Regions from separate parts of the Homo sapiens genome. Here regions 1, 2 and 3 are each linked to region 4. The links are contacts of gene promoters, found by promoter capture Hi-C in blood cells and fetal thymus (Javierre and others, 2016). All regions are on one chromosome and are shown on one strand. The core of a region is centred on a gene start or on the middle of the fragment in contact, and the rest is flanking DNA. Distances in the headings are between cores, read along the strand shown. Region 1 overlaps USP46 (ubiquitin specific peptidase 46). Region 2 has its middle 3.0 kb from the start of DANCR. Region 3 overlaps FIP1L1 (factor interacting with PAPOLA and CPSF1). Region 4 holds the start of REST (RE1 silencing transcription factor).

Region 1 (3,263 bases), core at 646-3,145, 4.3 Mb before region 4:
ACAGTTTGCCCAAAAGCACCATTAGATTCATGCTTAACTGGAGAGACACCCAATGGTGCAGATTTCAATTCTAACTCACATTGACTACAATCATGTCCTCATATAAAATAAAAGCCAGAAGCAGAATGTGTATACAACTTTGGTCAAACGAGAATGTATTTTTGAAATGTCCTGTTGTGTTAATCGGTCTTTCCACTGTACAGCTGCTGGGAGTTTATTCAACTTCTATCTGTGCTGATATAACACTGTATTGAAATTGTTTCATCTTTACCAATGTTAACACCCACAAGATAAGGAACAGCTGAGCCCCTTGGGGACAGGGACTCACCTCATTCATTTATTAAGCACTTGAGTATAGTCTGTGCCAACACCAACATAGCAGGTCCTCAACAGATGGCCATTTATCGGAACAAAACTCGTAATCATTTGATACACAGCATTTTCTCAGAGGTACATCTTACAGCATTATTAACAAATGAAATAAGATTAGATGATCTGAAGCAACTTGCATTGGTATGTCACATTTGGTTTCTTCTAACTAATGCTTCCTTTTTAGAAAATTTCTCAAGCTCTTCAAATAGGAAACTTAAAAAACCCAAAAACAAAAACTTTCCATTTGCAGGGCCATAAAAATATATAGGAAGTTAAATCCATTGGTCTGGACAAAAATCAGAGGATTATCAACAGAAGACATTTCCTCATGCTTGGTAGCAGCTAGTGCATTATGAAAATTACAACACACCAGCCAAACAAGCTTTACTATCTCTGAACCACACACTGCTGTGTGGCCAAGCTGCCTTGCCCTGAGCAAGTTCATCAAGAATTACCATGGCAGGAATTCACATGGAAGAAAAATTAAAACAAATAGAAACTAGTACTAAACTTCCAGTGAACAATAAAACTTCAGCAAGTGGGTGGGTAAGTGGAGGAATGAAGATATTTTCCAAGTTTCCTATAACTAAAACTGGCACAAGAAGTATGGGGAAAAGAGGGGATGTTTAGTTCTCAATCACACGAAGTATCTGCTACAAATTTGATTTCTGCTCTGCTGGGTCCTTTCTTATCTGGTGGAGGAAACAAATCCACTTTCAATGATAGATCTTCGTTTTTTCCTGTTACCCAGAAAAATGGTACCTTCTAATATCCTTTCTGAACACATATCAGCCTGTTCAAAATATGTTAAACGATGTGCTTAAGAAAAAAATGCAATCACCATTTGCTCTTACTACAACTACTCAAACCAGCTGGGACCAAAGTTAGGAGCGGGAAGGGTCAGTAAGAGGCCCACAGAGGAGCTAAGCAGTGAGAAGGGACCTGTAAGACACCTACCTGAAAACAATTCATTATTGAGCAAAGAATCTAAAGAGAGGTCCAGTTAATATTTACGTCTGATCCAGTGAAAAGACAGCAGTTTCCTCATACCCAGCCTTCTCCTCTGGGAAGGAAGACTGGGAGGGACAGTGGGGGCGGTGGGTGGGGGATTGACCTGAGCAGGGGGCGGGGTTAAGGATTCCCACTCCAGCCTTCCTATACATGGGAGGTGTTTATATTAGTGGTTGCTTCCACCAGGTCTGAAATGGCATGATCTCCACTGTCCCTTAAACACCTGGTAGATGACATAACAATGAGAAAGATGATGTTGACAATGACACTCACTGAGTTCTAGCCATGTACCAGGCCCTGTGCCCGAGTAATACAACAATATTAACATCACCTTTTGGTAGATAAGGAAAGTCTAAGACCGGACAACTTGTTCAAGGACACAAAGCCAACATGTGTTAGAACCAGGACCTGCCGGGTATGGTGGCTCACGGCAGTAATTTGGCGCTTCGGGAGGCTGAGGTGGGAGGACCACTTGAGCCCAGGTATTAGGGACCAGCCTGGGCAACATAGGGAGACCCAGTCTCTATGGAAAATTTAAAAATTAGCCAGGCATGGTGGCACGTGCCTGTAGTCCCAGCTACTCAGAAGGCAGAGGTGGGAGAATCACTTGAGCCTGGGAAGTGGAGGCTGCAGTGAGCCACCATGTTCATGCCACTGCACTCCAGCCTGGGTGACAGTGTGAGACCTTGTCAAAAAAAAAAAAAAAAAAAAAAAGAACCAGGACCTGAACCCAGGAAGTCTGACATTAGAACCCAAACTCTGTCACTCTCTAGACATGGCGTCTAAATACAACATCAGACTCCTTACTTAATGAATTACTGGTTCCTCACTTCATCTGGGTGATGGTCCTAAATTTGGTACCTTTTTAGGTCTCCACCTGAGATGTCAACTCTCAGGGCAGTATTGGCCTGCTCCTCTCAGGTCCTCCCCACACCCTGTCTCCCTGACTGAGTTTCACTGAAACACGTTGTGACATTCAGCCCAGGTGTGCCAGAAAGCCCCCGCAGCACTGAGGGTGGGTGGGGGGACGCGTGGGGGGAGGTTGGGGGCTGGCTTCCTCTAGGGGCATGCTAGCTCTCAAGTTTCCAGCCTGCTTCTACACAGAGAGGTGTAACCACACACAAGCAGGACAAGAACACCACCAAGGGCTGGGTCGGAGCCTCACTACCCTGTAGTATCCTTAGGCCTGCGGCCACACCAACAGACATAAAAGAGTATTCAAGCTGCTCCCGATTCACAGTTCCCTCAGGAACTGGTCGTAGGAGAGAAACTGAGAAGGCATCACCTCTTCACAAGCAGCCCCTCCACAGGAATAAGAGGAAATCTGACTCCTCGCAGAGAAAGGAAAAAAAGAGAAAACAGAAAGGCTCTAGGATCCACTCCCCGTATGGAACTCGCCCGGCACCAACCAGTACCTGTGCAGCTATCACTCTGGGAGGCCCCAGCATTTGCTTTGCTGGCCGTGACAGTGGCACGTCCCATTGTGCTGAAAGCTGAAGCCAGCGGGTCTCAATTCCACCCCTGAGCTAACACAAGGCTTCTTAATGCTCCTTTGCCATGTGTTGATCTTGCAACAGAATGTGGGACAGAAGATTTAAAAAGCTATGTGATGGGGGAAGGGCAGCCAGATCACCTTACACCAGGGCTTCTCCATCAAGCTTCCTTGGATTCCCTTTAGGGGCCAGTATTACTAGCTTCAAGGGAGGTTTTCCTCAAACTGGCACTGTAAGAGCACGTGTTGCCTCCGGGGACCCGCTTGGGAGGGGGCTAGAGGGGAGGCGGGGTGCAGTCTAAAGAATGTAGGCAAAACACACATCATCTCACCCTGCAAGGGACAGCAATGCCTTACTCCAATCTGAGCTCCCCAAAGGCTCTGACAA
Region 2 (3,104 bases), core at 230-2,729, 4.2 Mb before region 4:
GCTAGGACCATGTCTGCTGTGGGGGTGGGAGGGTAGACACAGGAGACAGCAGTGGAGGCATCACAAGAGATCATTCTTCTGCTTTCAGGTTGGTTGTTGCCTATGCCATGCCTACTGCCCGCTCTTGTGTTGTAGACAAGGGAGTGTCTCTAACTGTGGAAGGTGGGGGCTCTCCTTTTTTGTAAAACGCTATACTTTATTCCGATATCGTGTTCTTGAAGTTACTTACAAAAGGCTAATATAGCCCTTATTTTGTTTTCTGTAATGAAAATTATTATATCAGTAATACATGCTCTTTGTAAAGAATTTGAATGATACCTCAAAAATATTTTTAGAAAGTAAGACACATGAAATCCCATCACCTTGAGAGAAATACCACTGACATTGTAGTAACCATATTTTCACACACACACACACACACACACACACAAACTATACTTGTACATGTATATACATAGAATACTATACATATATACATACTATACTATAAATATATACATAGTATGTATGTATTTATATTATATAGCTACATACATATAGTTATTTAAGATTACAAGATACAAGTGGTTTTATCATAGATATTTTCTCCTTCCCTCTCACTCCTCTCCCCCATATCCTTCATCCCCTACCCTCTGGATTACCATATTAACAGCAGGTTGTGAGTGTAGATAGGTCTAGGGATAAGTAGGAGTTAAGGAAAAAAGAACAGGTGACAGGCAGCCCAGACGAAGAGAACACCACATGCAAAGGCAAGGAAGCAAGAGCTTATTAGAGCTGTGGCTCTTGAAACTTTAATGTGCATACAGATCACCTGGGGATCTTGTTGAAATATAGATTCCGAATCAGCAGATCTGGGATGAGGCCTGAGATTATGCATTACTACAAGTTTCCAGGGAATGCCCAGGCTGATGGACCACGCTTTGAGAAGCAAGGATGTAAACTATTGTGCAGTTCAATGTAGTATCTACCAGCCACATGTGACTTTTATTTTTATCTATTTATTTATCTTAGATGTCTTGCTCTGTCACCCAGTCTGGAGTGCTGTAGTGCCATCATAGGTCACTGCAGCCTTGAATCCTGAGCTCAAGTGATCCTCTTGCCTCAGCTGCCTGAGTAGCTGGGACTACAGGCCTGTTCTGCCATGCTTGGCTAATTTTTTTTTTCTGTAGAGATGGAGTCTTGCTATATTGCGGCAGCTGGAGTGCAGTGGCTATTCACAGGCACTGTCTGAGCACACTGCAACCTCAAACTTCTGGCCTCAAGGGATCCTCCCACCTCAGACTTCTGCCCACGTAGCTGGGATTATAGGCATACCACCACCAGGCCCAGCATGACTATTTAAATTTAAATTAGTTAAAAGTAAATGAAGTTTAAGATCCAGGTCTTGTGTTGTGCTAGTCACATTTCAAGTACTCAATAGCCACATGTGGCTACCATACTGGACAGCAGAGATATAGAACATTTCCATCACTGCAGAAAGTTGTATGGGAGAGTGCTGGACAGCATTCAGGGGACTGCCATTAGTTCAGCATGGTTGGATTATAATAGGTATGTGGGAAGTGAGAGGAGGAAGTAGATAGGTGGAGGTTGGTTTTGTTTCTGGTGGCAGTAAAGAGCCATTTAACAATTTCCAATGGAGATGACAGCAGTGTGGAAGAATTCATGGGGAAGGGAACACTGGAGACAGGGAAGCTGAATGAAGGTGGAGGCTACTGCAGTGGATGATGCTGAAAGTAAATGATGGAGCTAGAACTAAAGTACAAGCAAGGGCTGGAAAGAAGAGGCAGAGTCATGGTGGTCAATAGGAAGAACTGCCCGCATGGAAGAAGATGAGGAAGTAGGAGGCTGAGAAATGGAGGAGGAGACTGAGAAAGGAAAGCATTTGCGCTAAGTCCTGGACAGCTGGGCTAAGGAATTGTTATTCTTCAAGACAGAGGACACAAAAAGGAAGTGGAGGGGTGGAAGAAGAGAATAAATTCTGGGCCAAAAGAGTGATTTTGTGGTGTCTCTGGGAAATCCAGCTGAGAATATCTGGAGGGCTGGTGGGTATTCTTCTAGGTCCCTTTATTCAACTTCCGACAGATTAAATTTGGAGAGACTGAACTCCCTCAAATTGGACAGATTGGCCAGTCGTGGTGGCTCACATCTGTAATGCCAATGCTTTGGGAGGCTGAGGTGGGAGGATCACTTAAGCCTAGGAGTTGGAGCCTGACCCGTGAGCTATGATTGTGCCACTGCACTCTAGCCTGAGTGATAGAGTAAGACCCTGTCAAAGGGAAAAGAAAGGGAGAGGGAGAGAGACGAGAGAGAGAGCAAGAAAGAGAGAGAGAGAGAAAAGAAAAGGAAGGAAGGGAGGGAGGGAGGGAAAGAAAAGAAAGAAAGAAAAGAAAGAAAGAAGGATTGATTAGACATACTAATTTCTCTAAAAAAATTAGGCCTAATAATAAACCCAATTGAAACAATTCTCTTTAAACTGCATTATAAGGATTTTTAGTACCAAATATATATTATCTTGAACCTAACTCAAAAGCAATTATAAATCAGTTTATTTTGTTCTATTGTCTCTGTATTTAATAGACATTTCTCCTCTAAGCCCAGTGAACAGTTTTACTATTTCGAATGAACTGTTTGTAAGTTCATTGAATTGAGGTATTTGGCCAGAAATGTGAAGCCTTCAGATTAAGGTGAATTTCTCTTAAATCAAACACAAATATAATTCTTTCATAATTCCTTCCCATTTTTATCCCCTGATTTGGGGAGGAGGGAAGACATTCTGCACAACTACCCCCAGCCCCTGCTAGGTTGCTGCTGAATTCCTGCATTAGTCTCTTTACTAAGGAGATTTACTTCTCTTTTCCTATATTTTCCCATGTTGCCTGACCACATGCATTGCCATAGTTAAAGGAAAGGTAATATCTCTCAGCTATCCAAAGGGACTATAAAAAGAACAGATTCCAACTAGAGATATGTTTGGAAGACTCTTGAGAAAGGTGAAGGGACAACAAACTGGTATTCACTCTCCAATTTCAACAAGATCCTATGAATATCTGCAAGATGATGACTAGGTGCTAGGGTTTATTGGTAAATTTTACTCAACTTCTTCT
Region 3 (3,108 bases), core at 478-2,977, 3.5 Mb before region 4:
TGGTTCTGTCAGTTGTCAAAATTATTTTCTTACAATCATTGGCTTCATTACAACACTGACTTACAACATTTTGGAGGACATTGAATCCTTTAAGGATTATTCCAGTTTCAGGACCTAATCTTACGCCAATTCTATTTGTTGGTAGTTTAAAGGACAAAGTTTTTGAACTTAGGATTGGACTGATTTTACACTGTTAAGTAACTTGTTACTCTTAAGTGAATTCAGTAGTGAAGTATACAGTATAATCGTTAAGCTACTGATAAAAATATTTTAACTTAATTGAAAATGTTTTTAAGTAAATCAGGAACACTCCAAACTACTGCTTTTCCAGTTTATTAACATTTTTGATGATATAATGGCAGTTTGGTTGTAATTTCAATGCTATGTATTGTTTGCATTCAAAATGTAATTAGCTGATTTGTTATAAGGTTGATTTCTTTGTTAGATTGTAAGAAAGATGTAAGTGTTCATTTATAGAACATATACAGGGAGTCAGAATTTTACCCCAGATTTCAAAAAGCAAGCCATGTAAAGAAGTACATGGAGATGTCGGCTTTACCCTGACCACATGCATTAGTGTCTGTAATGGAGGGAGAGGTAGTTAGAAGATTTTAAGGAATATTTGGGTTTAAAAAGTGGAAGATATACAACTTCATACCGAGTAAGCTGCAATCGAAAAGATAAAACAGGTGTTAGTGAGGATATGGGGAAATAAAACCCTCATACACTTCTGGTGGGATTGTAAAATGGTGCAGCTGCTTTGAAGAACAGCCTGGCCATTTTCTCAAATGGTGAAACATGGAGTTACCATGTGAGTCCTCCACCTTAGAGGAATGAAAACATATTCAGACAAAAACTTGTACGTGAATATTCATAGCAGCATTATTCTTAATAGAAAGTGGAAAAAGAAAACCTCGCAGCTGCATCAACTGATGAATGGATAGATTAAATGTGTTATATCCATACAGCGGAATATTATTTGGCAAGGACAATAAAATGAAGTACTGGTAGATGTTACAACACGGATGAACCTTACAAATGTGGAAGCTAAAGATGTCAGTCCGTAGAGACAGATTAGTGGTTACTAAGAGTTGGGTGAGTGATTGCTAATGTATACAAAGTTCCTTTTGGGAGTGATGCATACATTCTGGAATTAGATAGTTGTGATGGTTGGACTATGTGACCATATTAAAACTCAGTTGTCCTGTTTGAATGGGTAGATTGTATAATATGTGAATTGCATCTCAAAGCTGTTACAACAAAAAATGGATAGAGGGAAAAAGTGAGAAATGGAAGTAGAAATAGCTTAGGAGGAGCTGAAACTACAGTTCAGCTTCCTTACCCAAAAAATCCCCTATAGTCTTTTCACTCATTGGTATATTATCTGAAATGTTATTTCATTTTAAAATTTATATATTCAACTCAGTTCCTAATTCTGATCTCAACCACAAAGTTGAGATTAGTTTTAGTTTATGTTATGAAAGTGATTGAATATTTCTTTGTACCCATTCCTTCAGTTGGTCAAGAAATTAATTACAGGTATAGTTTTACAATCAAATATACTTTTCTATATGATAATCTTTATCCCATTAATTTTTATTTTTATTGGTTACAATTTTAAAAGCTTACTTTCTAATCAAACATTCTTTAATTTTAATTCCGCAATACACAACTTGCTAAAATTTATTGGAGGGAACCTTCTACCTTCCCTGAGTGTCACTGTCAACATAGCTTTATATTCCTTTCTGCAACTTCATTTGGGGAGCCGTTGAGTTGATTTCATCCTATGGGGGAAAAAACAATTTCCTTTACAGTGTTATTTTTCTAGAAAAAGCTTAAAATTTTATCATGTTTCTAACATTTTAATGGTGATAGAAAATTAAAACTTCCAAAAGAGTAGGCCTATTGAAGAAAGGTACTCTGCCAGACCTACTGCTATCTGGCTTGGTACATCATTGCATTGCTCTACCAAAGTTCCTGCTATTAGAATTTGCCCGTTTCCTACTGACTGGCTCATTGCTGAAGCCTCTGTTTTTCTTAAACATTGCATTGCAGTCTCCAATTGTGTTATATCTATCCAAGTTTTGACTAAAGAAGGGATACTGTTTTGTGACGTAGAAAGCAAATGGGACTTGCTTCTGGCTACCTAGAAGCTTATTTCAGCAGGAGGTAAATGTACTGAACAATTATAGCTGCATATTTGTTTTCTTGAAGCAAGCAGTAGAACAATGAAAATATAACAGTTATGTTTTGACTTTTTATCTTTCATTTTGCTTTATTTGGTGATTGTGCTATAAAATGCCACTGTAAAGATCAAATTGATTTAGGATAATTAAAATTGATTAAGTTTGTCATATATTTTTAAAATGTGTAAAAAGCTTGAATTATAGCCCACCATCAAATTATAAATCATTAATAAACTGTGAAGGCATTTGCATTCTTTTTTTTTTTTTTTTTTTTTTTTGAGACAGCATCTCACGCTGTCGCCCAGGCTAGAGTGCAGTGGCATGATCACTGCAGCCTCACTGCAACCTCTATCTCCTGGGTTCAAGCAATTGTCTGCTTCAGCCTTCCGAGTAGCTGGGATTACAGGTGCCCGCCACCATGCCTGGCTAATTTTTTTTTTTTTGTATTTTTAGTAGAGACGGGGTTTTACCATCTTGGCCAGGCTGGTCTTGAATTCCTGACCTCGTGATCCACCCACCTCAGCCTCTCAAAGTGCTGGGATTACAGGCATGAGCCTCCACGCCCAGCCTGGCATTTGCATTCTACTTACAATGTTGAGTACTTGTCTTCTGCAAGTTACTAGAAATAACGGAATAAGACAGTCAGATTTTACCATTACTGTCTCCAGTGGAGACAATAATTTTAGGAGCTTTATTAAAGCTTAGAAATACTAATATAATCTATCTGTACTTCCGAAAAGTAATGCCTGACATGTATACTTACTTTTGTTGTTTGTAGTGCTAATCCTCCATCTGGAATTGAAGATGAAACTGCTGAAAATGGTGTACCAAAACCGGTAACATAAGGCTTTGAAATCCAGTTACTGATACAAATCTTTATCAATAGCTTCACAGTTTACATAGAAAGCAAGCTGGCATTTTA
Region 4 (3,594 bases), core at 982-3,481:
TCTCTAGAGAAAATACTATTAAGAACATATGATAATTAAAATAAAAAAATTGATGAGTTAAATATGCAGGAAAAAAACCATATAAGAAAAGCAGAACTCATTCTCATTTCAGAGTTTTTATCTTGCAGAAGATCCTAAAGTTTGGATACAGCAAAGTAAAATACAGACTTTTGAAAAACAGTTAGGAATTCAAGTTCATAGCAACAGCTTCCCTCAAGAAAATTTTCAATTGATTTGTAATTTGGCCTATGAATTTGACCTGTGGCCTTCATGTCATGATAATTTGGGTCACTCTGAATATGCCATCCCTTGAACAAGGGCCTCTGCTAATTTTAAATGAATGCAGCTGCCCATTCGCCATTCTTCTATTTGCATCACAATATGTGGGAATAAATTTGCAATTAATAAGACATTTCCAGTAAGCAGTCAGATTGAGGAAATGAAGGACATTTAGTAAGTTTAACAAGAGACATTTCATTTTTGCCTTTTTGGACCTAAAAAAGGGAAAGAAAACAAGTTTATGTCTTTGACAACCTTGGTAGAGGCCTGAATTGTACCCTGGGCTACAGCATCTAAAAAAGCCATGTGACCTCAAACTTGATTTTAGTTAAACAAATAAAATATATATAGAAAAGTTTGTACCAGTCCTAAAAATGTCGATCTTCCTTTCCTCCCTCCCTCCCTCCCTTCCTTCCTGTCTCTTTGGTTCAATGAAAATGAATACTTTTCAGGTTTGATTCATGGAGAGGTGTTACATTTGAAATTGCCTCATTGAAACTTTTGGTGGTCGAGCACCTTAGGGTCTTCATTTCATCTTGCATCGGAGACTGCATTAATTAGTAATATATTGTCCAGATAGAGGGAAACAGAGGTCCTACGTGGGTATACCAGGAAATGAAGAGTCTGGAAGCCCTGCCCTAAGAGAAACAAATAAAGGAACTTCAAAGAGAAGGAAGTGAGGTACCCTGAGGAGAAGCTGGGATGTCTTAACAACTGCTTTGGGATTTTGAGCTTGCCCTTTTCACTGTGTAGAGTGTTCCTTGCCCTACTTTCCACCTGTTGAAGTTTTCCTCATTCTCCAAGGTCAGACTGAATACATCTACTGTGAAAAGTTTCTAGAACCTCTTGGGATCCATCTTCCTACTGGCAAACCCCCATAGCACTTGCTACTTATGTTGTAATACCAAGCAATAGTCAGACTTATCTAGGTCAAGTTAAGTAGGGGCTTGAACGCCACACTAAGGGGTTTAAGCTTTAAGCTTGTAGTCATGGGGAGCCACTATGCTTCTGAGGACAGGTGTGACTTACGACTGACGTTTAGGAAGGTATCAAAGGCAGACTGAGAAGCTCTTTCAGGTGTGAAAGGGGGTGGAATTACTCTCTCTCTGTTCTTTTTTGTTGTTTTTGTTTTTGTTAGCACATGACTATGGGCTAGGCATTCCGCTTGGTTATCCCGCTTCATAGACGTGAGCCCGGTTACTCCGACACACCGTGGCCCCAGGCAGCCTCCCCGTCCTCACCACCTTTTCTTCTGTCATCTGAGGGTAATTCCTCCCCTGCAGTCGTGCTTTCCGGGCTCAGCAATGACCTGCTACCTGCCACGTCTAGGGATCTGTCCCCTCAGTCCTCACGCTCACGCTTTCTGAGTCCATAACCTCCTTCCTGAAACGTTTTCTTCTCACTTCTCCCAAACTGACTGCATTCCCCCTCCGGTAGTTTGAAATTTGGAAGACTTTTTTTTTTTTTTTTTTTTTTTACCGCAGACGCTTAAAACGAAGCTTAATTAGTCAAGGACAGCTATGGGTGGAGACTTGAAGAGATCTGAAGGGTATCTTGGAGCGCTTTAGACTTGAGAGGCCGGTGACAATAGCTCTAAAGAGACCCGTCAAAGCCTGCGGATTCTTCTTTTAACAGCTCTATTCTCATGCATGCACGCCAGGGCTGGGGGGAACTTTTGTTGTTTGTTTGTAATAGAAATCGAGAAAGGGAGTGGGGCCCGCCTCTTTTCTGACCTAAGGGCAGGAGTGAGGGGCCGGGAGGATTACGGGCGGCTCCCCCTAGACGCGCCCCCAGGCGAGCTGGAGACTGGGGCACTCCTTGCTTGGTAGAGGGGCGGGGCGCGCCTAGCGGCCACGCGCGCGGGCGTCGGAGGGGGCGTGTCTCGCGGGCGCGCGCGGGCGTCGGAGGGGGCGTGTCCCGCGGGCGGTGGCGGCGGCGGCGGCGCGGACTGGGTGCGCGGCGCAGCGTCCTGTGTTGGAATGTGCGGCTGCCGCGAGCTCGCGGCGCAGCAGCGGAGCGAGCGCCGCCGAGGCCCGGGGCCCCAGACCCTGGCGGCGGCTGCCGCAGCCGAGACGGCAGGGCGAGGCCCGGAGGCCTGAGCACCCTCTGCAGCCCCACTCCTGGGCCTTCTTGGTCCACGACGGCCCCAGCACCCAACTTTACCACCCTCCCCCACCTCTCCCCCGAAACTCCAGCAACAAAGAAAAGTAGTCGGAGAAGGAGCGGCGACTCAGGGTCGCCCGCCCCTCCTCACCGAGGAAGGCCGGTAAGTGGGGCGCTGGGCTGGGGGCTCGGTCAGGGTGGGGGAGGGCCGCCCGGGCGGCGGCAGTGGCGGGACGGGGAGGGCGCGGAAGGACGCGGAGTCAGGCGCTGTCCAGGGCTGATTTGCAGATACTGTGGCTCCGGCGGCGGCGGCCCCGCCGGGCGGGGGCTGGCGGCCGAGCAGGATCGGGTTACACAGCAGCCGCCCGGGGGCTGGGGGCGTTTGTTGGGAGCAGCGCGTCGCCTGGACCCCCTCCCCACTGGAGGCTGGGACGCCGCCTCCGCGCTGGCCCGGACGCTCCACCGAGTCAGGTCCTTTGAGGCCAAGGAGCGGAGCTGCTCGGGCCCGTAGTCCTGAAACTTCCTCTGCTTCCTCCTCCTGCCCCCGGGTCCCACCGCAGCCCCGCGCCGGCCCGCGGCCCTCCTGGCCCCCTCCCCCAGGGCCTCTCCCTGTCGCCGGAAGGCGCCGTTGAGTGCGGCCGGGCGGGTTGAGTCAGCCCCGGGGCCCGGGCGGTTCCGCCTGCGGGGCTGGACAGCGATTTCTGCGCTTCAGCCGTCCGGCGCCGCTGGCCCCCGCGTCCGGCCACCCGACCGCTGGAGCTGGCGGGGCTGGGGCGCGCGTCCTGCCGGGCGCCGTGGGGGAGTGAAGTTCGCAAACTTCCGGGGCGCGGGGGTGGCGGCTGGCCCGTGTGGGGGCCCCCTCCGGCGCTCGGAGCCCGACGCCTCGCGAGGGCGCCCGCGGAGCCTCCCCGGCCCTGGGCGTTGGGCGAGCCCCGGGGCGGTCGGAGGGGCCCGGGGGCGGTCGGAGAAGCCCGGACGCCGGCTGCGCGGTAACTTTCCGTCCTCTCCCGGGACGGGGGCCCTAGGGCTGGGGAGGGGGCTGCCTGGACTCGGGGAGGACTGGTTCCGGCCAAACAGCGCCTCGAGCTTGATCCCCTCCCCCGTTTTAGTGTTGGAGAGCGCAGGAAAAGGCTCAGGACGAGTGTCGGGGCGACTCCCGCGAGTTGGTGTGTAAATGTGTGCAGTGAGCGGGCCGAGGCGAGAGGAAGCGAG

Evidence for each region. The method cuts DNA at HindIII sites, captures the fragments that hold promoters and counts their contacts. A CHiCAGO score of 5 or more calls a contact.
Region 1: a contact is called between a fragment that was not itself captured here and the fragment with the promoter of REST in region 4, in 1 of 17 cell types (activated CD4 T cells). The highest score is 6.4, in activated CD4 T cells.
Region 2: a fragment that was not itself captured here is called in contact with the fragment with the promoter of REST in region 4 in 3 of 17 cell types (activated CD4 T cells, fetal thymus and non-activated CD4 T cells); the score reaches 6.4 in activated CD4 T cells.
Region 3: a fragment that was not itself captured here is called in contact with the fragment with the promoter of REST in region 4 in 5 of 17 cell types (fetal thymus, non-activated CD4 T cells, total CD4 T cells and 2 more); the score reaches 16.5 in fetal thymus.

The regions. Positions count from the first base shown.
Region 1 is chr4:52,654,967-52,658,229 of GRCh38, forward strand. The region is part of intron 1 of USP46 (ubiquitin specific peptidase 46); the gene reads right to left. Among named protein-coding and RNA genes, the nearest start is that of USP46, 2.7 kb to the right of the region's middle. The HindIII fragment of the contact is 2,287 bases long and covers 753-3,039 here.
Region 2 is chr4:52,707,836-52,710,939 of GRCh38, forward strand. No RefSeq gene overlaps it. Among named protein-coding and RNA genes, the nearest start is that of DANCR, 3.0 kb to the right of the region's middle. The HindIII fragment of the contact is 5,324 bases long and covers 1-3,104 here.
Region 3 is chr4:53,379,314-53,382,421 of GRCh38, forward strand. It overlaps FIP1L1 (factor interacting with PAPOLA and CPSF1), which reads left to right. Exons shown (of 18, transcript NM_030917.4): 4 at 2,965-3,022. Among named protein-coding and RNA genes, the nearest start is that of FIP1L1, 3.2 kb to the left of the region's middle. The HindIII fragment of the contact is 210 bases long and covers 1,623-1,832 here.
Region 4 is chr4:56,905,669-56,909,262 of GRCh38, forward strand. REST (RE1 silencing transcription factor) reads left to right here and starts at 2,232. Exons shown (of 4, transcript NM_005612.5): 1 at 2,232-2,545. RefSeq lists enhancers at 1,689-2,618, 3,549-3,594 and silencers at 1,715-2,009, 2,109-2,498, 2,609-3,458. The HindIII fragment of the contact is 2,443 bases long and covers 1,777-3,594 here.